Linked DNA regions of Homo sapiens: all the other regions are linked to region 6. The links are contacts of gene promoters, found by promoter capture Hi-C in blood cells and fetal thymus (Javierre and others, 2016). All regions are on one chromosome and are shown on one strand. The core of a region is centred on a gene start or on the middle of the fragment in contact, and the rest is flanking DNA. Distances in the headings are between cores, read along the strand shown. Region 1 has its middle 50 kb from the start of SH3GLB1. Region 2 overlaps SH3GLB1 (SH3 domain containing GRB2 like, endophilin B1). Region 3 overlaps SH3GLB1 (SH3 domain containing GRB2 like, endophilin B1). Region 4 overlaps CLCA4-AS1 (CLCA4 antisense RNA 1). Region 5 overlaps SELENOF (selenoprotein F). Region 6 holds the start of CLCA2 (chloride channel accessory 2).

The links. Contacts are between HindIII fragments. The CHiCAGO score rates a contact against its expected background, and 5 or more counts as called.
Region 1: a contact is called between a fragment that was not itself captured here and the fragment with the promoter of CLCA2 in region 6, in 1 of 17 cell types (naive CD4 T cells). The highest score is 6.5, in naive CD4 T cells.
Region 2: a contact is called between a fragment that was not itself captured here and the fragment with the promoter of CLCA2 in region 6, in 9 of 17 cell types (total CD4 T cells, naive CD4 T cells, naive CD8 T cells and 6 more). The highest score is 9.0, in total CD4 T cells.
Region 3: a fragment that was not itself captured here is called in contact with the fragment with the promoter of CLCA2 in region 6 in 3 of 17 cell types (fetal thymus, naive CD4 T cells and total CD4 T cells); the score reaches 5.6 in fetal thymus.
Region 4: a fragment that was not itself captured here is called in contact with the fragment with the promoter of CLCA2 in region 6 in 8 of 17 cell types (total B cells, naive B cells, erythroblasts and 5 more); the score reaches 10.7 in total B cells.
Region 5: a contact is called between a fragment that was not itself captured here and the fragment with the promoter of CLCA2 in region 6, in 1 of 17 cell types (monocytes). The highest score is 5.2, in monocytes.

Annotation. Positions count from the first base shown.
Region 1 is chr1:86,752,670-86,756,517 of GRCh38, forward strand. No RefSeq gene overlaps it. Among named protein-coding and RNA genes, the nearest start is that of SH3GLB1, 50 kb to the left of the region's middle. RefSeq lists enhancers at 1,140-1,199, 2,871-3,371. The HindIII fragment of the contact is 3,892 bases long and covers 1-3,794 here.
Region 2 is chr1:86,735,027-86,739,197 of GRCh38, forward strand. SH3GLB1 (SH3 domain containing GRB2 like, endophilin B1) reads left to right here. Exons shown (of 9, transcript NM_016009.5): 7 at 53-153. Among named protein-coding and RNA genes, the nearest start is that of SH3GLB1, 33 kb to the left of the region's middle. The HindIII fragment of the contact is 6,030 bases long and covers 1-4,171 here.
Region 3 is chr1:86,713,899-86,717,966 of GRCh38, forward strand. SH3GLB1 (SH3 domain containing GRB2 like, endophilin B1) reads left to right here. Exons shown (of 9, transcript NM_016009.5): 2 at 1,826-1,967. Among named protein-coding and RNA genes, the nearest start is that of SH3GLB1, 11 kb to the left of the region's middle. The HindIII fragment of the contact is 1,407 bases long and covers 1,839-3,245 here.
Region 4 is chr1:86,692,332-86,696,820 of GRCh38, forward strand. CLCA4-AS1 (CLCA4 antisense RNA 1) reads right to left here. Exons shown (of 5, transcript NR_135837.1): 4 at 832-959. Among named protein-coding and RNA genes, the nearest start is that of CLCA4-AS1, 9.9 kb to the right of the region's middle. The HindIII fragment of the contact is 702 bases long and covers 2,698-3,399 here.
Region 5 is chr1:86,901,743-86,906,183 of GRCh38, forward strand. It overlaps SELENOF (selenoprotein F), which reads right to left. Exons shown (of 5, transcript NM_004261.5): 2 at 1,539-1,706. Among named protein-coding and RNA genes, the nearest start is that of SELENOF, 10 kb to the right of the region's middle. The HindIII fragment of the contact is 1,155 bases long and covers 2,561-3,715 here.
Region 6 is chr1:86,422,366-86,426,236 of GRCh38, forward strand. CLCA2 (chloride channel accessory 2) reads left to right here and starts at 1,806. Exons shown (of 14, transcript NM_006536.7): 1 at 1,806-2,068; 2 at 2,974-3,111. The coding sequence starts at 1,883. The HindIII fragment of the contact is 7,161 bases long and covers 1-2,709 here.

The DNA of each region.
Region 1 (3,848 bases), core at 599-3,098, 330 kb after region 6:
TATGCTTCCAATTGCATGGTGTGATTATAAAACAATTTCTATCATATACTCATAAAATGACCAGCTTTATTTCATGTAACTTCCTGATGAATGCCTCAAGATAAATTTGTGTTATAATAACCCTAGGAAACTAAATGAATTTACCTTCTACCCAGGCTGTTTGAATGTAAATCAATTACATGTTACAGAAGACTGAAATGATAGTGGTTTTATAATCGTCCACAAGCCATTCTTTCTGAGAGCATTTACCTAGCAAGTCCAGTAGAAATTAAATTTGTGGTTGCGTACCTTCAAGCAAATTGTTCACTTAATTTCTCAGCCCCACAGATTTTTTTATCTGTAAAATAAAAGGATTAAACCAGATGATCTCTAAGGTCCATCTAGCTCTTGCTTCCTAACATGTTCTAAACAAGCCAAAGTTGTTCATGTTTTAATAATAACTAATGTTAAACCCACAATTATGAATTAACTTGAACAGCATACACATTTCTACTGGCAGCTCGTTGATGGGGTTGTTTTCTTTATATTTTAGAGTATAAAGCTCTTCAGTCTGAGCTTTCTACAAAAGGCTGAATAACACCTTGTGAGAAATTCTTTAGAAATCCCTCTCTACCTGGACTGACTTAGACCTCAAAAGGACCAACTCTGTGCTCAGACATTCTAGTGAATTCTAATGAGTATATATGAACAGTGGCACTCACAGTCTTAGGCATCATTGGGCTTTTACATCCCCTTGAAAAAGTTGCTAACACTTATTGAGCACTTTATGTGCTTTACCTTCTTTAAACCTGGCAAGAAAGTATACTTTCCCCCATTCTACAGACGAGAAAACAGAATTTAGAAAGCCACACAACTAGAAAAATGGCAAAGAAGTCTCATTGCTTGCCTTCCCAACTCCAAAGCCCAAGCTCTTAATCAGTGTGGAACACAGACACCTATTTTTGGAATGTGCCCCCTACATATGGTCAATGGTCCATTATTTCCTGCACTCTTCCCAGGTTAGTACTTTTCTTGGGGCAGAAAAAGTATTGCTCTTAACATAAAGCAGCTATAAACTGCTGCTTAACCAACTAAAGAAACCTACAAAGGTCATCAAGCCAAGCAGGGAGCTGCCAGTGCCATCACTGCCACAGCTGAAAGTGCAGAGAAATCAGTGTTGGTTTAAGTCAGGGCTTCTCAAAGTGCAGGTCCTGGAATCTGTCAGGGGTGGGACTCTGCCATCTTGTGGTTCAATAAGCTCTCCAGATGATTCTGATGCACATGTTTGAGAGCCACTTGTTTACATATAGCAGAGAAACCACCTGTCTCTCACCTCAAAGCTGACTCACCTGCAGAAACAATGAAAGATGATAATGACAGCCCCCCCAAAATACCTCCAAGCTATCAAATGAAACTAAAATGTAATATCATTTTACTGACTCTATCCAATAAATAGACCACTCATTAATGAGTAATTTGGTAAGCACGTGAACATGCTCAGGATATAATTTTTCCAGGAACAGGGAAAAGAGTCCATGGATTGGAAGTTTATTTTGAAATTCAGCTGTAAGGGAATACGTTCTATGTATCTGTCTTTTATCAAGGTAAGACAGCAATATAATTTTATTGTTTCTTTCTAGCCAGTGTCTCAGTTTCCACTGAGGGGTTTATATGCCCTATTCAGCAGGACAAGAGCACATTATTTTAAAAATAGATGCCAATCATTGGCATTTACCACATGCCAGTCACTGTGTGGGGTGCTTTACACATTCTCTAATTTCATTCCTGCAACAATGCTGCGAGGTAGAGATTGTCCTTCCTCTGCAGATGAGAAAACCAAAGTTTAGATAGAGACATTAAGTGTAAATCTGCTAAGCTCATTTCAAGACTCCTGAATCTCTAGAGAAAATAGATTTCCTGAGTAACATCTCCCTTTTCTTCTTTCTCTCGATGCTAATGCAACATTCCTTTACCCCAAGACTGCCAGGCACAGGAAGCCAGTGCTCTAGACCTTCCTTCATGGCCCATTCCCACTTTTCCTTTGACTCCCAGCATGAGCCCACTCTAGCTAATTTTAACACCATTTTCTGCAAACTTGAGGTCCCCAACACCCGGATAGCTGAGCTAGGTGGGCTGCTGAGACTAAAGGATCTATGGGTCCTGGGGGAGGAAAAGAATGCCCCTGGAGGGAAAAGGAAGAAGGGCAGTAGGTAGCAGAAGGCGTGGCTTGGATGGGGGAAATGTGTCAACAGTGATACTGACCATGAACACACTGAACAACTAGCAAAGAGAATGGCTGAAAATATGACTGCTCAATGGAGGAACTAAGGAAAATATAGTCATATTTGTAAATAGTTTATCATTTCTGTTTCACTGCCATACAGCACAACAACTAGGATGCATATTATTAAATGGGTTGGATTAACTTTGTGGGTTTGGATTATTTTGCTGGAATAGTGACTTCTTTACTACTGTGACAATGCTATACTACAGAGTTTGCTGAACACACAGCACAGCTGTCTGTTCACTGCTTCAGAATTGGAGAGACCACTGGTCATATCTATATTTCCCTAGTTTGGAGAACATATATCCATACATTCCAATGCAAAATGCAAAAACAATGACCTGAGTTTGGTAATAGATCCAGAAACTTGTTAAGCTCTTATCAGCCATGTGTCTGTATTAAAAACCACCTGGGCCAGGCGCGGTGGCGCACGCCTGTAATCTCAGCACTTTGGGGGGCCGAGGTGGGCGGATCACGAGGTCAGGAGATCGAAACAATCCTGGCTAACACGGTGAAACCCTGTCCCTACTAAAAATACAAAAAATTAGCCGGGCGTGGTGGCGGGCACCTGTAGTCCCAGCTACGGGGGAGGCTGAGGCAGGAGAATGGCATGAACCCGGGAGGCGGAGCTGGCAGTGAGCCAAGACCGCGCCACTGCACTCCAGCCTAGGCGACAGAGTGAGACTCCGTCTCGGAAAAACAAAAAAAAAAAACAAAAACAAAAACAAAACCACCTGGCTGCAGTTGAAAGATCACCTTCTATTTGCGGTCATTCACTATATTTGCGGTAACTTCACATCACTGATCACAGGAACTACAGTAATGGGCAGGGTGGCTGAGCAGGGATTCCTTTGCCTGTCTTCCCCAGTCCGTTCCCCAGTTCCTCTCTCCCAAAAGTCCTATCAACAGAGACCTTGCAACTTGAGGCAAAAAGTGAAAGAATAATAGCTGCAGTAACTTAAGTACTTGCTGCATACAAGGCGCTGTGCTTAAAGTGATTTACATTCATTATCTCATTTTAACAACCTGAGAGGTAGGTATGACTCTTATCTGCGTTTTACAAAAGGGGAAGTGAAGGCTCTTAAATCACATAGCCTGGTAGAGTGGTAGAGCCTGGGCTTTGACCCAGGGCTCCCTAACTCCAAAACACTTGCTCTCAATGTCTACAGAGGACTCCCCAATGCACTATTATACCATTTAACTTGGCTAATGGCCAGTGTTTAAAATGGATAGGAGCAGAGACTTATCCTATCTATAACCAAGGTAGAGTGCAGCCTCTGAAATACAGCTGAGCAAACAACTCAAGCACAGTTTGATGTTCCTGCCCAGTGGGTGCTATTCCAGGAACTGATATCCCTTCCCTCATGTTCCTTAAACATATGTGACACCCACTATTATGGTATTGACAATGGGCTGAGAACCCCCTTCTCAGTGTAAGCAGGGACTCTTTCTAACCTCTCCCTGGTATAGGAAATGAGCACCTCTTCCATTCTGTCTCCAGTCTACTTAGCTCTGTCAGTAACTTGTCCAAAGCTTCTTTGGAAACTCAGTTGATTGGAAAACAGAGTACATTTTATATAATATA
Region 2 (4,171 bases), core at 1,102-3,601, 310 kb after region 6:
GCCATTTAAGTTGACTATACAGCTAAGAACTAACTATAATTTTCCTTCACAGGCCCATCACCTTCGCTGTCTGAATGACTTTGTAGAAGCCCAGATGACTTACTATGCACAGTGTTACCAGTATATGTTGGACCTCCAGAAACAACTGGGAAGGTGATAATTTACTTTTCACATGTAAAGAGGAGAAATTCAGATTTTTGCTTATGAACTAATACTAAGGATGAAGATTAGAGCAATTAAAGGTTCTTACTAGCTTTCTTAGAAATAGTTTCTTTTTTTTAAGGAAAGTAATTATCAGTTTTCTGAGGTAACAGAATATTTTGAGCTTTTCTGGCACAGAGGCATGTTAACAGGGATGAGAAAAAGTGAATACCTTTTCAGTGCTGTAAGGTTAAAAGTGTTTCAAGTTCACTTTTCTCCTGCTACTGAATACTTTTTGCTATTGGTTGAGGAAGATATAATTAAATTGACAGTTACCCTTAAAGATAAACTAATTTATACTTATTCATTACTCATCTGTTTACTATATTGAAAAAAAGTTTTAGAATATTTCGTAAGACCTCATATCTACCGATGTGATTATTTTGAGTATGTTAATATACTTCAAAGCAAAATGACAGTATGTAAAACACAAAGCTCAATCACTCATTCATCACGTATTTATTGACTATCTGCCATGTGCCAAGCACTGTTACATATTGTGGGGTAATATCAGCAAACAAAACAGGCAAAGATGCTTGCCTTTATGGAGCTCACATTATAAGGTGACACTGAAAATAAAATAATGTTTAGGGCAAACATGGTCTCTGCTCTCACAACACTTAGCCTAGGTAGAAATACAAAGCAAGCCGTTGGTAGACAGGCCATGTGGTAGGCAGAAAAGCAGAAGGTGCCTGGTATTGTGAAGGCATCTAACTGTGACTGAGGTACATCTAGCAGAGTTTCCCAGGTGAAGTTATCTTGGTAGGAATAATCTAGATGAAGAAAGGGACAGGGATGAATATTCTAAGCAAGGAAGAATATGTTTATAAAAAAGCCAGAAGAAAGAGAGTAGGGAAAGTTCGGGGAACTGATAGTAGTCCATTCAGGCTGGAGCATAGTGTTCAAGAATGGAATGGTAGATGAATCTAGAGGAGTTAAGCAGGGTCATACCATGAATGGCTTTTAAAGTAAGTTGTTGTAAGGAGTTTGGAATTTATATATTGAGGAACCATTAAAGCAGGGGAGCGATATGTAGCATTTGAAGGATGAATATCAAAAAATCGTTTCAAGGAATAAGGTAAATAAAGTCACTTTGGTGTTTGTTTCTGCACATTAACACTTCAAAACTTGGCCTAGAATAAAATTGAGCACGTCCATGAAACCAATTTTGAACCTCAAAAATGAATGGTAGCCTAATCATTAGTTATTTTAATAGAATATACAGGAGCATTTACATAACTATATATTTGAGGTTTTATTAGTGGTGTTAATATCTCAAGGCAGAACAGCACTTTATCTTCACATCATTATAACTATTTTAAGCCCAAGAAGCCTTAGTACTTTTTTCCACTTTATCCTGAAACTCTGGAAGTGCGGCATAGGGGTTGCTTATACTCGCATTCTACTTAAAGCCACACTATGCTTAGGACTTGGCCATTTAAACAAAATCCAGTTGTTGCGTTATTACTGCTCTTTGAGATAAGCTCCAGCAATACAAAGTAAAACCAGTGCTACTATTCTAGAAAAGAAAGTCTAGCTTGTCTCTCCACCCTCAATTATATTATTGCTAATGACCAATGACATTGGAGGAAGTTTTATCTCTTTAATTTGTTGCAGGTTATGCTTTTTAAGATAATACATAGAAATATTCAAATATAGAACTTGACAAATCATCCAGCTTCACACTAACACATTCAAAAACTATTTATGAAGAAGAGAACCAGATTGTATTGTTAATAGTTGCAATAACAGTACCAACAGGTAGTAGAAGTAACTGAATAACAGCCATCACTTTGGTTGAGCTTAAGTTGTGCATAGGTGCTCTTCCAGACACCTCATGTGTATTATTAACTTTATAATCCTCACCACCAAATGAGGTAGGTACTATTATTATCCATATTTTAAAGATGAGAAAGCAGAAGTACTAGTCACAAGATTAGCAATTTTTTTAATAATTGGAAGGCTTTTGCATTTCAAGCTCCAGTGGCTTAATTGACATTTTTATAGAATGAGTAATTGCTATGATTTTTTAACGTATCAATAAAAGTTCTTAGAAGGTAAAAATGGCCTTTCAGTTCATTTTTTAAATCTTTAACTCTGCAAAATTGACATAGGTACACTTCAGTGGCTAATCAAAGGCTAAAATCATACTAGTAGATTTGGAAGTAAAATATGGTTAGAGAACTAAAAAAGCCATGTGTATATACATATTCATATAAATAGAGCTTTTTCTTATCTTCAGAAATGTATGTATTTAATCCCTACTGAAGAACCGAGTTCACTGAGGAAAGGATACTAGGACAGGTGGTCTTAATTTTAGAGAGGAAAAGCTATATTTAAAACTATTTCACCCTTTATCCATCAGAGAAACATTTGCTTTTCATTTTTAAAATGTACTGTTCCAGATGTGGGGGATATAGTATATAAATAAAATAATCAAAATTCCTGCCTTCCTGGAATCTACATTCTATATGGGGGCAGAAGGGAGCAGAAAAGCAATATGTATATAAATTATATAGTATATTAGAAGGTGAAAATGGTGTACCGGAAAATATAGCAGGAAACTACTTTGATGGGAGTAGAGAAAGACGTGAGAAAGCACACATGCAGGCATCTGAGAGAAGATGCTCCAGGTAGAGGGTGCAGCAAGTACAAAAACCCTGAGGGCATGACATAGCTGGTATGGTCAAGGAACAGCAAGGAGGGCTTGGCTAGAGACGAGTAGAGGAAACGGGGAGCCAAAACATATAGGGCTTCGACTTTGGTCTTTACTCAGAGATGAGGCGCCTTTGGAAATTTTGAGCTGAAGAGTGACATAATTTTAGGCTTTAACAGAATCATTCTGGCTGCCACGTTGAGGATAGGTGTTGGGTGGAAGCTGACTGATCTGTTTCAAACTTATTGCAATAATGTAGTCAGTAATTCAGTCAGAAGATGGCAGTGGCTTGGATCAGGGTAATTGTGGTAGGTAGGATGGAAGTGGTCAGGTCCTGTGGGCCTGTGGGTGTTGTTTGTTTTTTGTTTGTTTGTTTTGTTTTGTTTTGTTTTGTTTTTTTGAGACAGAGTCTTGCTCTGTTGCCCAGGCTGGAGTGCAGTGGCGCAATCTCGGCTCACTGCAAGCTCCTCCATCTGGGTTTATGCCATTCTCCTGCCTCAGCCACCCGAGTAGCGGGGACTACAGGCACCCACCACCACACCCAGCTAATTTTTTGTATTTTTAGTAGAGACAGGGTTTCACCGTGTTAGCCAGGATGGTCTCGATCTCCTGACCTTGTGATCTGCCCGCCTCGGCCTCCCAAAGTGCTGGGATTACAGGCGTGACTGTGGGTGTATTTTAGACTTAAAGCCAGAAGGATTTGCTTGACAGACTGTATGTATATTGGACACAAAGAGGTCAAGAATTATTGCAAGGTTTTGTTTTGTTTTGTTTTAGAGACAGAGTTTCACTCTTCCAGTCCAAGGTGGAGTACAATGGCGCAACTTCGGCTCACTGCAACCTCTGCCTCCCGGGTTCAAGAGATTCTCCTGCCTCAGCCTCCCAAGTAGCTAGGATTACAGGTGTGCGCCACCATGCCCAGCTAATTTTTTGCATTTTTAGTAGAAAAGGGGTTTCACCATGTTAGCCAGGCTGGTCTTGAACTCCTGGCCTCAGGCTATCTGCCCGCCTCAGCCTCTCAAAGTGCTGGGATTATAGGCGTGAGCCACCACGTCCATCTGCAAGTTTTTGACCTAAGTAACTGAAAGAATGGGGAGTTGTAGATAGTTAAAATGGGGAATGCCAGAGGAGGCAAAGATTTCAGGGATGGAGGTCTGGGAAGTATGTCAGTTATATTAGAAGCCCAGTTTTAAATATGTTAAGTTTGAGATGTCTCTTAAACATTTAAGTGGAGGTATCCAATTTTAGGATATGCAGGTCTGGACTTGGATTGGGGGCAGGGTGAATTAGATAATTAGAGAGTTGTCAGCATAT
Region 3 (4,068 bases), core at 1,292-3,791, 290 kb after region 6:
CTTCCTAAGAACAGAAACCTTATATGTTTTGTTGGCTGCTGAAACCCATGTGTTTAGAAGAGTGCCTAGCACATATGTAGGTGCTTAATAAGTATTTGTTGAAGGAATAAACAAAATGAACAAACAAATGGATAAACTTGCTTATTAAAGGGAAATTTATGCATGCAGTTTCAATTTTTAAGGGGCTAAGTGAATTTTTTTTAGATCACTCTTTATAGGTGATGTTCACCTGAGTGAAAGGTATTCCCTTTCTTCCCTTCCTATTGGTCACTTTATCTGGGAGTTATTTTATCTAGCCATTGGTGGTAGACTTTGAACATGTAAAAGTCTAGTAGGAGGTCTGTTGCTTAGAATCTTCAGGGATCTGTAAAGACTACGGGGTTCTCTGTTAAGAATGAGGTTGCATAGTTTATCCAGCTGGCCTTGGGATCAGGGTTTGCTTTTGCTCAGTGCCCAGTCCTCCAGCTACACTGCAAGTTTATGGGCTTAGGCAATAGCTTTGTAACTGCTATTTTTGGTTCTACCCACTAGGTCAGGGGCTGGCTATAGACCATTCTCAAAAAGACCCAAGGCTTTACAAAAGCTATTTAAGCTGTTATTTCTAGCCCCTAAACAGGAGCCTCAGTGGAGATTGTAACCAGAAGTCTAAGAATAGAATTCTAGAGGATCCTTCAGCTTAAGGTGTTGATAATAACCTGAAAGTATTAAACCAAGAAGAAGGATGCTGAAAGAAACAATAAAACTCAGAAAATAGAGTAGCAAACGAGATTTTTGAGAAACGAAAGGAGAGAAAGGCAAGGTGAACACTGTTTTGTCAGCCAGAAGTGAGTCATTACTGAGCACAGAATTAATGCTAGTGATATACCTGTGTTAAGATGGGAGGAAGCCACATATTCTAGAGGAAAATGATGCATGATAAACAGCTTGAGTCATCACCTCTAATGTTTAATTAAAAGTATCCAGAAGGCTGTAGATCTACACAGAATCTTTTTACTGCTTTATTATTATATAGGCAGTGCTACCTTTTCTCAAATACCAGTATATTCAATAATAAAAATTGATTCATTGAGTACGTTTAACCACATTTTATGACCTTTAAAAGATGTCTTCATAGTATGAATAGGATATGTTCCAAAAGTTAGTCTATAAATAAATTGCTGGAACATATCCTCAGCAGCTTAAATGACAGGTTTTATGGTATGTTCTGGGAAACTATTTATCTAACTAGGTGTGATTAAAGTGCTAATAAGACATAAACCACAATAAACATTAACAGCTCTTTCAAAACTTAATAATTACAAGGCACCAAACAAAGTGATTTGCATACACAATCATACTTAATCCCCCAAACACTATAAAATATGTATTGTCTCTCTTTTATAATAGAGGGTACTAAAGAAAAAATATTCAATACATTGCTCAGCTCACACAGCAAGGAACAAAGTTAAGATTTGAATTCAGATTCAACTGACTCAAAGCTCTTACTCTTTACCGTTATCCTAGTCTACCTAGGATAGGTAGTTGAAATAGTTGCATGCTTTATATACCAAGAAGTATACTTAGGTTTTCTGTAGAATTCACACCATACATTTTAGCAGAACTAAGGGTATGTGATGACTGTAAGGTAGGGTCATCCACAAAAGAAGTATGGATAAATTACCATAGGAGCAAAAAAAAGTATTCATAAGCAATGGCTTACAAAGCTGGAGCATGGTTATTTGTATGTTTAGGATTGTTTAGCTTTGAATTTGCTTTTTACTTATTGATATGGTTCCCTAAAATTTATTTGCAGTATATTTAATTTTTGTTTTACAATCAATAACAGTTCACAGAAGAAAAGCTTGGCCAGGCTGAGAAGACAGAATTGGATGCTCACTTAGAGAACCTCCTTAGCAAAGCTGAATGTACCAAAATATGGACAGAAAAAATAATGAAACAAACTGAAGTGTTATTGCAGCCAAATCCAAGTAAGAAACTCTACCTCTTGTGTACCTTAAGTACTATTAGTGGGTTTTTAAATGTTAAAAAAAAAAGTTTTAATGGCCATCTGAAAACATAGGATTTTTTTATTGTAGCTTCAAGGTCAGTGGGTTTTTTTGTGTGTGCTTTTGTGAAGAGGAAGTGATAAACAGCTATGTACCTAACCAATTTTAAAATGATATTTTTCAGTCTTTTATAGAATCCTTGTAAAAAATCTCAATTTTAGGCAGTGACTTTGAATTTTAATTTATGAGCAGCTGTGTATATAAATATGTTTTCCTTTTTCATCTAGGGAAGAATTGTCCCTAGATAATTAAGACAAAGTTATATAGTTGCTTAAGTAGGTACCATTTTTTATGTTTAAGTTTTTGGTGTGTTTTTTTGTTTGTTTGTTTGTTTGTTTGTTTGTTTTTTGAGACAGAGTCTCGCCCTGTCGCCCATGCTGGAGTGCAATGGTGTGATCTTGGCTCACTGCAACCTCCACCTCCCAGGTTGAAGCAATTCTTCTGCCTCAGCCTCCCAAGTAGCTGGGATTACAGGCATGTGCCACCACGCCCAGCTAATTTTTTTTTGTGTGTGTGTCTTTAGTAGAGATAGGGTTTCACCATGTTGTCCAGCCTAGTCTCGAACTCCTGACCTCGTGATCCACCTGCCTCGGCCTCCCAAAGTACTGGGATGACAGCCATAAGCCACTGCGCCCCGCCTATGTTTAAGTTTTACATTTTCACATAAATTATTTCATTTCATCTTCAGACAACTATGAGATTTTCAGATAAGTCAACTCAATAATCTTGCAGTTAAGGTGCATAATTGTTTAGTGAATGAAACTCATGAGTTAGCATCTTGTCAAATGTAGCATAGCTAATTAGAAGTGGAAATTGGACTAGAACCGGGTGTATGAACATCCAGTCTTTTCACTGTGAGCTTTGCATATCAAAACTGAAGAACAAAGGTACAATGTATGCTTTCCTTCTTTTTTCCCCAACTTGTTTGGGACCAAGTTGTGATATGACATATGCTTACTTTTAGATACTAACTTAAACTTCAAGCACTATATAAATATTAGCAGTTCTCTATCATTTTAGTTAAATAGTAGTGACTTTTTAAATACACCTTTTGGTTGAAAAACTTAACTGTTGAGTTCTGTGCTCAGTACCTGGGTAACAGGTTCATGTGTACCCCAAACTTCAGCATCATTCAGTATACCCAGGTAGCAAATCTGCATGTGTACTCCTTGAACTAAAATAAAAGTTGGAAATAAAATAAGCTTTTTGCACTTTGAGTGAGTCCTAATGTCTTTGGACACCATGTAATATTTTTTATTCATTTAAGGCCATTTAAATTCTACACTCTGGCACTTTTATTAAAAGTAATAGACATTTTTCCCCTTGTTCTAAACATATTTTTCTGAATGGGAAATAAGCTCATTCACAACTGGTAAACAGGGAAATAAAATACAATTTCCTCCTGCCCCTGTTTTGTGCCAGGAAGTCGTAATAATTGTTTTTGTTTTTTGTTTGTGCTGTGGTTTTTTTGTTTTGTTTTGTTTTGTTTTGTTTGAGACAGAGTCTTGCTGTGTCACCCAGGCTGGAGTGCAGTGGTGTGATCTTGGTTCACTGCAACCTCCACCTCCTGGGTTCAAGCGATTTTCCTGCCTCTGCCTGCTGAGAGTAGCTGGGATTACAGGTGTCCACCACCATACCCGGCTAATTTTTGTATTTTTAGTAGAGACAGGGTTTCTCCATGTTGGCCAGGCTGGTCTCGAACTCCCGACCTCAGGTAATCTGCCCGCCTCAGCCTCCCAAAGCGCTGGGATTACACGTGTGAGCCACCATGCCCAGCCTGTGCTCTGGTTATTAAGTTACATAGGTTTTGAGCAGCCAAACCTAACACTCCTTTTCTTGTAATTCCTATGTTGTTTTCAATGTATGATCTTCTGGAAATGGGTTTTTCAAAAATACGTTATGCAGAAATACATATTACATTGTAGCAGAGTTGCCTGCATATTTAAGATTTTATTATAACCTATTGAAATTAAACATTTATTAGTATTCCAAATATTTTATTAACTGAACGAAGTCAGCATAA
Region 4 (4,489 bases), core at 1,799-4,298, 270 kb after region 6:
ATCCTCATTTTTCTTAATCTATATTTTTCATTCCCTATTTCTCCATACTGTTTTCTGTATAATTTCCTCAGAACTATCTTGCATTTACTAATCTCCCTTCATTGGTATCTAATATGCCGTTAGTTAGTCCATTAAGTTTTCAGTTTAATGACTTTATTTTAAATGTATAGATGTTCAATTTTTTCTTTAAATTGAACTTTTTTTGTTTGTTTGAATGAGTGGAGAGTTTAATAGGCCAGGAAGAAGGAAGAAGGCAGAAGGAAGAAGCTCCCCTGTACAGAGACAGAGGGTGGGGGGGCTCCAAAGCCAAGAGAGGAAACCCCAAATGCAATAGACACCAGCCAGGTATATATGCAGAGGCTGGAGGAGCTGGTGTCCGATTTGCACAGGGCTCAGGAGATTGATTTGACTAGGCATGTCATTCACATAGCCCATGAAAAAGCTGGCGCTCCCATCCTAGCCTTTTAATATGCAAATGTAAGGCATCATGATGTTCTACACACGTGGGGATATGTGGGGGTAGGCATGTTGCCAGGAACATGTGGGGCAAGGGCAAGAAGGCTGCAGGAATTACCATGTTTGGGTGGACGCAGTTTCTAATAGCCTGTATTTGCATATCAAAGGTTGCCGGCCTGGCTCTAAGAGCGGGGGCTTTACAAGAAATATTTCCAGAGATGCTTTTAAAAATGAAAACTTCCCAAGGACCCCTTTTCCTCTCTATCTGCCTAAAATAATTTCTTAATAACTCCTACAACATTCCCCCCCACCGGGGAGAGGCCACACTAACTGCTGTTAGAGGGTTTGGAGCGATGACTTCTTCTGGCTACTTACGGCTGAAAAGGGGCATCGAATGGGGAACAGCAGCTAGGGCTCCTCCTGGGGTGGATCTAAGGGTCCTCAGAAGAATGGCGTGTCCATGTGGGGTTCAGTTTGCAGCACCATTTGGAGTTTGATTGCTTCTAGGTGAGAAGAAACAATTCGAGTTATAGTATTGAGTATACAGGGTCCAAATATCAATACAAGACATATAAGCAAGAGAGGGCTTAATAAAGGGGTTAACCAATTCCATAAAGAAGGCTGGAATTTATTAAAGAGGGATTGTAGCCATCTGGGGCTGAAGCTGGCATTTTCCCTGAGCCTGTCAATAATTTTGATTTGATCTTTAAGTACCTGTAGATTTTTCTCTACTTTACTAGGTGTTAATCATCACTAAACCCAATAAAAAGTCCTAGCAGACTCAGTGATAGTAAAACTTTTATGCTTCCTTTTTGTCAGTAACTATTATTCCTACTATAAGGATAATAATTAAGCAAAATACAACAGCAATGGAAACTCTGTTCAATATTTCAATTAGAAGGTGCTACCATGTATAACCCTATTGCAAATAGTAGAGTGAGTATAGCAGTTCCCACAAGTGTGGTGTAGTAGATAATTTCCATATAAAATTTTACTTGCCAAGATATAGAATTTCCCTTTGGCGGTCTGTGAAGCTTTGCTTTTATTTTCCCAAACAAAGAAAACTCCAGGTTATGGATACCCTACTTACTTTCATTACCTGGCAGAATTTGCAGTATAATTGCCCAGAGCTAGTGTATTGATTCAGATTTTTACGTTACCCATCCCTTTTTATTTCTTCCAAGCTGCAGAAGATTACCATTTTATTCACAGGAATAAGAAGGATTAGTTTAAAATGTAAGCAAAAATCTTAAAAACAATTGAGATGAGGATTTAATGACAAATGTATGATAAGCTTTGGAGCAAAATTTTTCTCTCCAGTTCTCATTTTTGGTCAAAACTAATCATGAATGAACTTTAGTCTTATACTTGGCTTGATTATTTGCATGAAGTGCAGTAAGAATAGTTATTTCTACATAGGTCTCTTGGATTGGCTTTGATGAAACTCTGTTCCACAAGGAATCTTAGATAAGACCTTTAAAGCCGAGCCCAGCAATGGGTCTGTATCCTCAAATACCTGTGAGTTGGGTGATCCTCACTTCTTGAGGTCCCAAGAGAAACTCCGAGCTTCCAGACCTGTTAGAAAGTGACATTCTTTATTGACTACAGGTTAGGAACCCTGTGCGGGGACTGTATAGACAAGGTATGAGGCCAGTTCTCCAAGGGGCTTTTATTGGCTCTGCATGTCAAGCTTGATTCCTTAAAGGGAAACACACCATTTCAGCCAAAGCCTTGGTAAAATAACCAGTTTATCCAATTGTGTCCTGTTGACAAAGAAAAATGCATTCTTATTGCACTGATGCAAACAACTATACTGCCATAAGTTAAGAGTACTTACAGGTAGTCTCCAAATTTTAGAGGAACCAGGTGGAGATAAATGAACATGCTCCAAATTTTGTTTACAGTAGTATACCTTACTCAATTATTAATGGCCATTAATAGTTTAAAATAAGTTTCCTTGACTCTGAAAAACAAAACAAGGATCAGCAATATTCCAAGCAAAAGTTAAAAAGATTACTTAAACTTTTTGAATGCAGTCCACTTAGTTAACTCTTGTTTTGCTTAATATTTGTGAACATGTCAGTTCTATAACTGTCTTTATTTTTACAGTGTCTTGCTGTTTTCTTCAGATTTTAATCTTCCTTTACTTTTCATTCTGTTTATCTTCTATTTCAAATCTTATTTATCACAGCCATGCAAATGACTCCAAAGTGTCTATCTTTAACCCAGTGTTCATTCCCAAGCTTTAATCACATATTTCCAATTGCTTTCTAGACATTATTAGACATCTTATGCCTCATGCTGTGAGATTTATCTGACTACTCAAATAATGTATCCATTCTGTGACTTATGATAGCACTCACCTCGCTTGATACTTGGCAATAGCCAGTGTAGGTCCTCTTTGCATGTGAATAGGACTGCATGTCTCTGAGTACAGGAATCATGTTTTGTGCTTCTTAGAAGACTTCTGGGTATCTTTAACTCTACCACGACCACTTGAATACCTCCCAAGCCAGGCTTTCTTAGATTCAACTTTCCATATTATCTCACGTATGCACATCGTTTAACAAAAAAAAGATTATATCTTATATTGCTGTCCTTCATGGAACTTAGCATAGGGGTTGCTCATAATAGGTGTTTGTTAGATGATCATATTGGTAAGTAACTGGCAAGTGGATCCTTTTAAGTTTTTCCTTGGTAACTTAAGAGCTTAAACTTATACCACATAATTTGGTGGCGTTGTCTCCTTACTCCCATACCTCAAAGCGTCAGTAAATACACTGATATTTACCTTTCAGGACAAGAAGCTAATTGCTAGTATGAGTCATATTAACTTAAATTCCAACAATGTGAGCCAAACTGTTATTTTACTTTTCCTTTTAGTCTTCATCTCAAGTCACAAGGTAATATCAGTAACTAAAGTATAAAATAAAATTATAGTTAAGCTTTATTTTAAAGTGGAATGAGCATTCAGTCCTCAAAGTAAAAACATGGGCATAATGGGAAAGAAGCTCTTTGAAAGAGAATAGCATTGCCAGTAGTCTAGCACTTTTATTCAAGATTGAAGAATGCAGTGAACTACATGATTCCAGGATCTTAAGTGTAATAGGAAAGAAATTATGTCATTTTGAGGTGAGGAGAAGTTTTGGTTTGTTGGCTAACATCTATGGCAAGGCATGCAGATTATGTCAAAAGCTAGGGTGTTTTGTTTTGCTTTGTTTCTCATCCGAAATAGAAAGCAGATTTGCCCATTATATCAATCATTAAACCAGAAATACTACCTAAAATTAGATTCCTTACACATATTGGAGAAGAGACTGTTTTTTCTCCTTTTCTCTGCCTTTTATACAACGTATACATTCCTGTTGTAAAACACAAAGGCAGATTTTCAGTATATGGGATTAAATATGAACTTTCCTCTTTACCTTCCCAGTCCTTTTCCTCTCCCCAATCTTTCTCTGTATGTATAATTCTGTATCAGTGTGAATGTGTGGATATATATTTATATTATTTCATAATAAAATGGAATCACACTGTAGGTATATTGTATGACTTTCTTTTTTCTCTTAACAATATAATTTAGAATTTTTTCCATTTCAGTACATATTTGTCTCCATAATTCTTTTAACTTTTCTATAGTATTTCACATTGCGAATGCACCATACTTCATAAAACCATTTTCTTACTGATTAACATTTCCAACTCTTTGGTATTAAAAACAGTGTTGCACAAAAGCTTGTATACTTATCTTTGTACAAATATGCTTTGGATAGATTGCTATAAGTAGAATTGCTGGGTCAAATTTAAATTTTACTTAATATGCCAAATTACCCTTCAAAATATCTTTATCAATGTGCACTTCCTCATATTGTGTTTGAGAATGCTTGTTTTCCTACATACTCCAATAACACTGGACATTACTGGTGACTCACTGCTTAACTCAAAGTAAAAATAATAAAAGCAATGTAAGTTGGTAGAGAGACAAATGCAAGACGAAAGAAAAAAATAAGTTCTAATTACCTCATCTTTAACA
Region 5 (4,441 bases), core at 1,888-4,387, 480 kb after region 6:
TTGGTTCTACTAAAATTATACCAAAAAACTGGGGTATTATGAAGAACTACTAAGAAAAGGCAGTAAGTAAAAATAGCTTTTACATGCATTTGGTTTACAGTTTTGGCATATCTGTTGTCAAATAGCAGACCTCTCAATTTACCCTAATCACAAGGGGGTGTGTGTGGTAAACACTGTTTATTATAAAATGCCCCTTGTTCTTCAGTCCTTCTGAGTTTGGTGTTTCAGTGAAAAAGGATGTTGGTTGAGTAGTAGTACAGCCCATAGAACAGCTTAAAGATAAGGAGAGGATGGCTCATACAGATTTATTCAGCAATTTGTCCCATGTGAATACCTCAGCAAAAAGAACAGAGGGGCAGCAAAAGGTCTACTAAACTAGTTAAGTTGTATGTCTTAAATCTATTTAAAATCAAGTTTTAAAAACTTGTTTAGATTTTATTTACATGCAAGAAAAAGAATAACTTATATGTAAAGAAATCTTCTAAACATTAAAATGTTTTACTGGTATATGTGAACCAGTAAAGTGAAAAACATGTAAGGCTTTGCAAGCCATTTTTGAGATACTTGGAATTTCAGGTTCAGATACAGAGAAATCAAGGGTTAAATTTTGGCTGAATACTAACATTTCAAAGCTTGCCTGCTTGTTTTTCTTTTAGAACTCCGAAAATGCACTTACTGTTAAAAACAAACCTTTACTACCAATAATAATAACACATCATTATGCCTGAAAGCTTTACAAACCATAATACTTCAAACAGAATTCAGCATGTACAAGTCAAAGACAGTACTGGAAGGAAACAACAGAAATATGCTAACATTTTTTTCTCACTACAAACACAGGTATCTTACCAATTTAGTTTTAACTGGACAACTCAAATGATCTTTCCAGTCTACTTTATAATTTAAATAAATCTAAGAGTTTTGATGAAAATATTTAAAAGATGAGCAAGTTCACTATTAATTTGTTTGAACAGCAGGTTTTAAAACATAGTAGGTTTACCTGGAGAGACTGAACTACCTATCCTTGGCTCTGTTTTCAGATGTTAAAGGTGAGGTTAGGTGTCTCAAATTACTAGCAATAGGTGTGTAAACTAACAGTCCATATTCTTTTTAACCAGATTTCATGTTACAATTTATTGTAGACAATTAAGTGCCAGGTATTATGTGCTTTACTTTCATTTCAAGTTTCATCCAACACTGGGTTCTTACTATAAATGAACAAAAGCACCTATTATTTTTTGGCTTCATTTGGCCAGAAGTTAGGAAGACTGGAGAACTACAGGATCAAAGCATGTTATAGGGATTCTACTTCCCCTTTGCTTGACAATCATGGTGGAATGGGATCCTGGTATGCAACCATACTTCTCCTTCATATTTGCTTTGATTGAACTAATAGGCCAGACAAGAAATCAGTTGAGTTTTACTAAAAAATGTAAAAGCTTAGAGGCTTTTTTACACTTAAATTGATTAAGCAACTTACATTTTTACCTTATCTCAACTAAACCATCCAATGGAAGGAATATACTAGAAAACAGTACCTTTTTGGTTTCAAATTGTGCTTCCTCCTGACAGCATCCTCTGCAATCAGGATCCAGCTGAAGCAGGTTGAACTGTCCGAGAAGATCACAAGAGCTGCAAAGCAAGTTGCTAGAAAAGCCTAACTCTCTGCATGCCTCCGATGAAAACTCTGCCCCAAAAGCAGACACCTGAAAATAAAAAATGGGAAATAAAACACAATTCCATATTTATACTACAAAGCTTTCCAAAAAGAGAACACGGGGTTGTCAAAAACTAACACATTGAAGACAAGTTACTGAAATGTTTCATTTGGAGATAAATTCTTTTAAATTTTAATTTAATTTTATTTTTTTTTGAGACGGAGTCTTGCTGTCGCCAGGCTGGAGGGCAGTGGTGCAACCTCGGCTCACTGCAACCTCTGCCACCTGGGTTCAAGTGATTCTCCTGCCTCAGCCTCCCTAGTAGCTGGGATTACAGGCGCATGCCACCACGCCCAGCTAATTTTTGTATTTTTAATAGAGACGGGGGCCACGATGGTCTTGATCTCCTGACCTCGTGATCCGCCCACCTTGGCTTCCCAAAGTGTTGGGATTACAGGCATGAGCCACCTCGCCCAGCAATAAATTCTTTCTTAAACTCTGTAACCTTATGTAATAGTCTGGTTTCTCCCACCTCCCCTACAAGCTTTTTTTCTTAAACATCCATCATCTTTCAGCTTAGCTAAAATATGGATTAAGAAGAAAAGGCATATCATTGTTCATGATGTTTATCACATAAATATTTTCTTAAAGATTTATTGTTTTAAAAAGGAATTTTCTTATAAGAAAAAATAATTTTTGTTTCATTTTAAGAACTCAACATCTGTTCATATGGGTCTATGGAGTAAGATTAGCTGTAGGGTTTATCTACAGTCACATCCAGCAGAAGAAGGACGGGAAAGGGGATGGTGCAGGCAAGAGCACGCCAGAATTCAAACTTTTGGTTTTAGGTAATAGTGCCACCAGTTACAAGATTCGTGACCCTGGGCAAACTATCCTCCCTAAGCTTTAATTTCCTCACTCATAAATTAAGGGGCAATACTTCCTACATAAAACAGATTGCTATGGTTACCTTACATAAATCGTTACATTAAATCAGAGATGATTTAATCAATCAGAATGGCTGACAAAAGCAGGCTTTCAACAATATTCCCTTCCCTCATCCATTCTTTTTTACCTATCAGTGAATGTGGTATACCTCCATTTGTCTAAGGCCAATCCCTCTACTTCCTCTTTGGATTCTATCTTAACAGATACTTCATTTCATCAATACTTCAACCTTTAGCTATATTTAAGCCCTATGGTCCTAACTGCTCTTCCCACGTTCTGTCATTTCTGAATTGTTACTATAACTTGGTTTCTATTATCTTTATTTTTTCCTAACACCCCAAACTCATTAATATAGCCTGGTTTCTGCTCCTACTACTCCACAAAATTTGCCCAAAATTACCAAATGCAAAGGCATTCAAAACTGTTCTGCTTCAACTACCCCGTCCAAAGGCCTGTCCTCCTTTACTTTTCTCTTCTATGCATCTCTTAAATGCTATTGTTTCCCACAGTTCTGTTTTTGGCTCTCTCTTAGCTTTACATGCCTTCTATTTATTACTGCATATTTATCCATGGCTTCAGATATGCATTTATTGAAAACTCTCAAGTATTTTTCTTGAATGTCAGGCTTCCAAAGCCAACAGTCCACTCAATATCACATTTAGGTGTTGAATATGCATTGCAAGTTCAAAATCTGCAACACTGAAACTTATATTTTTCTTAAATCTATTCTTCCTAAGGTATTCAGTATCTTAGTAAAATGGCATCATTTCTCTGACAAGCTAGTTGCCCAGATCAGTCATCCTACTGACCTACACTCCATATTCTTCACCATTCTCACAACCAATTAATATATTTTTATAATTCTCTTAAAAAGCTCTCAAGTCTTTTCCTGCCTCAGTGGCTTAAATGCTCACTGCCAAGGCTACTTCTCATTACTTCCTCAATTCCTCCTGCTATAAGGAATTCCTATAGTATCTTGAAGTATAAAAGCCCTACTCAAACACACTTTTGCTCACAGTCTCCCCTATATTTAAGGTTCTGTTTCCACTTCTTCACCTTGTAACATCTTACTTATTTTCAAGAATCTAATCAGTATTAGTCTTTTAGGAAGCTTTCACTGACCAAAAAAATCAGATCTCAATCATTAGCCAGAGTACTTTTCTTCTCCGAGAAACTTGTGCACAGTTGTAAAACAGTACCGTTCGTGACACTGTACTATGTAAATCTGACTCCTCAACAATACTATGAACTCTTCTGAAGGCAAGCATTAAGTTGTTTCTCTGTCTTTCCCTCACTTGTGACAGTTTTCATATATCTGTTGGATAAATAAATCGCACAAAGCCATAGCGTCAGGTAGGGGAAATTTCAGATTGACTGCAACTGACTGATCTTCTAGACTAAGGGTATGCAAACTTTATGTGAAGGGCCAGATAATTTTGTTAGGCTTTTGTGGCCATATGGTTTCTGTACAACTATCTAACTCAGCCATGGCAGTGCAAAAACTAGTCACAGATAACACATGAATGAATGAATGTGTCTGTGTTCCAATGAAACTTTGCTTCATTTTGTTATGTTAATTTGTTCTACAAAAACTGGGTTGACTGAATTTGGCCCACCAGCTGCAGTGTGTCAATCCTTTTCTAAACTCACCAGGTAGATTAATATCCAGTGGCATTTCCCAATGAAAAGAAAATTTAAGTACTTGTTGGCATATTCACCCAAAATGCTGACGTGATATTTTATACATCTTTAATCTTATCTCTGTAATAATGTCATATGTATAATTTTTCAAAACAGATGAGACATCCCAGCCTAGTGGGAGGGAACTGTGACTT
Region 6 (3,871 bases), core at 556-3,055:
GGTGGGGGAAAGAATTTTTACACTATAACCCGGGGCTCCTTCACTATCTTGTTTTATTTACTTCTCCTGACTCCATTCATTCAGTCATTCAACAGAGAGTTTACTGAGATAGGTGCTGGGGAAGTACTGAATGAAAACAGACTCCATCCCTTCCTTCATACAGCAGGAAGCTGACAATCAATTATACAATATAAATTTGACATTGTTACCATGATCATACTGCAAAGGTGAGTTATCTGATGCTATGGAAGCATGAAAGAAGGGAATTTGACTTAGTTATGGAGCTCAGGCCAGGCTTCCAGGACACAGCTGGAATTTGAAGGAAAAGCAGGTGAGAAGAAGCATGAGAAAATGATTCAAGCAAGACAGCAAGGGGAAAAAAATTCCCTCAACATCTGTCAACATTGCAGTGCAATATCAAAGCCCAAGTTCAGAAGACTCCAACCTTGCTGGGAAGAAGAGTGACATCACACTGCCCATGAAGATGTTGAAAACAGACAATGTTGGTGAAATCCCTGTTGAGAGCAGGGACAGACCGTTTCCTAAATGCTACACTCCCCTCCCCAGAAATGTTCCGAGACGGGGCCACAGCAGGGAAGAGTCACAGGTTTTGCTTGCTGTGGACCTCTGACGCTGTGAATAAAACTTTTTCTTTAGTTTTACAATAGATGTCACTGTGCGGCATTCTTAAACACAAAGAAGAGGGAGAAACGAGGTTACTAAGATAATTTAGTAACTAAGAGAGAACATGATATATTGAAAAACAGTGGAATTTGGAGTCAGTTGGTTCATTCTAGTACGATGATAATACTCCCAACCTTGAACAAGTTACTTAGATTTTTTTGAACATTAGTTCTGTCACCCATAAAATAGGCATAATAAAATCCATCACTCAAAAAATGTTAGTTTCTTCTCTCATTGGCTAATTTTCATAATCAGAATTTCCAAGACTCATTATTTTCATTTGAAAAGTACAAATTATACCTGCATCAGAGTATTGATATTTAAATGAGTTCATTTGTAAACTTTAAAGCATGAGGTAAATATCAGGTATTATGAATCAGTCATAAAATATTTGCGATGGTTACTATATATTAGATCCTGTTTTTGGTCCTGGAGAAATGGAGGGTTGACTGAAGCAGGGCCTTGCCCTTAGGAGAGAGCTGAAGGAGAAATCTATTCTTCTTCCTGAGGCAGAGAGAAAAGGTAGCAAGGCCAGAGGGAAAGGGCTGCACAGGCACCCAAGTTCCTGGCAGTTGGCCCTCTCTGGGGGATATCTGATATCTGACCTCCAGCCATCAGCTGAGAGCTTGCCCAGACTATCTGACCCAAGGGCTGTAGGGACTGGGCTGCAGAATGGATTTCTAAATCTTCAAAATAAACAGGCAAGGAAATCTTGCAACAAATGAAAAATGACTTGAGGGCAGTAGAAAGTACTTGTGCCAACTGATGGAGGAGGTTATGAAAAATGAGGAGAGGAAAATCACTATAGACTTCTGTGTTTCTACTGCAAGTGGATTGAACAGTCCAGATATACTGATTTCCAGCCCATATTTCCTGCTTTTAAGCTCCTTTGGTCTTATTTCCCTCTTCTTTCTGAAAAGTTATAAAATGAATGAAGGGCAGAATGTTTCTTGCCCAACCATGATTCAGGAGGCAGCTCAGCCACAGAACAGGCAAGTGTAGCATTGCCTGGAGGAAAAGGACTTGTAGAGGCAGGTCCCAGATGGATCCACCCCAGACTTTTCAAAGAAGACACCTCCTTCATCTTGTGTTCTAAAACCTTGCAAGTTCAGGAAGAAACCATCTGCATCCATATTGAAAACCTGACACAATGTATGCAGCAGGCTCAGTGTGAGTGAACTGGAGGCTTCTCTACAACATGACCCAAAGGAGCATTGCAGGTCCTATTTGCAACCTGAAGTTTGTGACTCTCCTGGTTGCCTTAAGTTCAGAACTCCCATTCCTGGGAGCTGGAGTACAGCTTCAAGACAATGGGTATAATGGATTGCTCATTGCAATTAATCCTCAGGTACCTGAGAATCAGAACCTCATCTCAAACATTAAGGTGAGTGGAAATTATGAAATTGATACTAGCATCCCATTTGATCAGACCTGTAGCCTTATTTAGAAGCTAACTACCCTGCCTGGTTTGTATTTGAGTAATACAGAGAACAGCATTTTTAAAAGATAGCGCCACAACGTTATGATTATGGCTAACTAAGCCAGTTTGTTCATCTAATTCTGTGTAGTCTCAGCTCACAGAGTGTTGATCTAGCCCTCTATTTTGTTATTGTTGGTTGCTACTAATTTCAGCTCTTTTGTTTTCCTACATGACTGTTTTTGGGGTAGCAACTTAGAAAAATAACAACCCATTGTGGCAACAAAGATTGAATATTTAACTGATGAATAAGCATGATAATGAGCATGCTTGTTAAAATCATATTGCTAGATTCCATCCTGAGGGTGAGAATTCTCAGGCAGAAAGGGTGAGAGTCTGCACGGTGGGCCAAAAAGCAAAATTATTTCTTTTCACTTGAATGTGCTGTAACATAATTGACTATTTTTACTTTAATATGGCAAGGGAGGATCATAGCTCTATGATGTAAGAGCCTCCATTTAGTATTGCTTTAGTGAAATCAGTAGCATCATAAGGTGTGGTCTTGAATGTGCCCACAGGTGTGACATGAAAAGGATTTGTTCCACAAAAGCTTAAAAGCCTTTCTCAAAATTGGGAAAACTATGAAGGCAAGCACAGACATATAATTAGTGTCCTAAAATCTTCCATATAATCATTTAAAGTTTTTTTAAAAATTTGCTCCTATGTTTTCCCAAAGTCTAGGGCTTTCTCTAAAAGAAATGGGTCTCTTCAAAATATTTCATTGTCTTTTATTACTGTTTAAGCATACCAGAAAACCAAAACATACAGGATTTACAAGTGGTAAAGTAAGTTTTTCTTTTGTCTGGCTGTAGGAAATGATAACTGAAGCTTCATTTTACCTATTTAATGCTACCAAGAGAAGAGTATTTTTCAGAAATATAAAGATTTTAATACCTGCCACATGGAAAGCTAATAATAACAGCAAAATAAAACAAGAATCATATGAAAAGGTAAGAATCCAGGATTTCATTCAATGATCTCAAGGGGAAAAAAAACACCAAAATATACTGTGCTCAAACGATAAAAGTGAGAAGTTAAGTAAAAACAAATCATCAGTATTAACAATGCAAATAATATTAATGGGCAGAATGTTATCAACAAAATATATGAGAATAAATGAATGCAAATTGTGCAGTAAAAAATGAGTCAAATGCCATAGCCTAAGTAGTTTCTCAGAAGATCTCTTTATTTTGTAACTTATGGAGTACTTTCTGAAAAGTTTGGTTGAGGATCAAGAACTAGTTTTATCCTACTGAGGATGAGCTGCAAAGGGAACAGTTCCAATTATGACTATACCCATTTACCATCCTGTCAGGAGCAATAAACATGCATGTCCAGACAGAAATATAAACCACCATGCATATAAAAATATGACTGCCATCTTATGCCATGGTGTAGATTATCAGAATTTCACATTAGCTCAAGTCCAGAATATTGTTTTAGGGGAATAAGGAGATTAGAAGGAAGGGAGGAAGGATGTGGGGATGTGGATGAGTAGGGGAATGGCTACCTTTTTTTTTCCACCTATAGAGGAACTTCACCTTGAAAGGCTCTCATAAGTTGCAGATCATGATTAAGCACCCATGATGATGTCTGGTACATACTAGTGTGCACACTATAAATAAATGATAAATAATATAAATGGTAAATCACTGTTTGAAGTCAACTGTGAACAAGAGTCCATTGCAGCTACCAGAAGGGCCAGAAGTA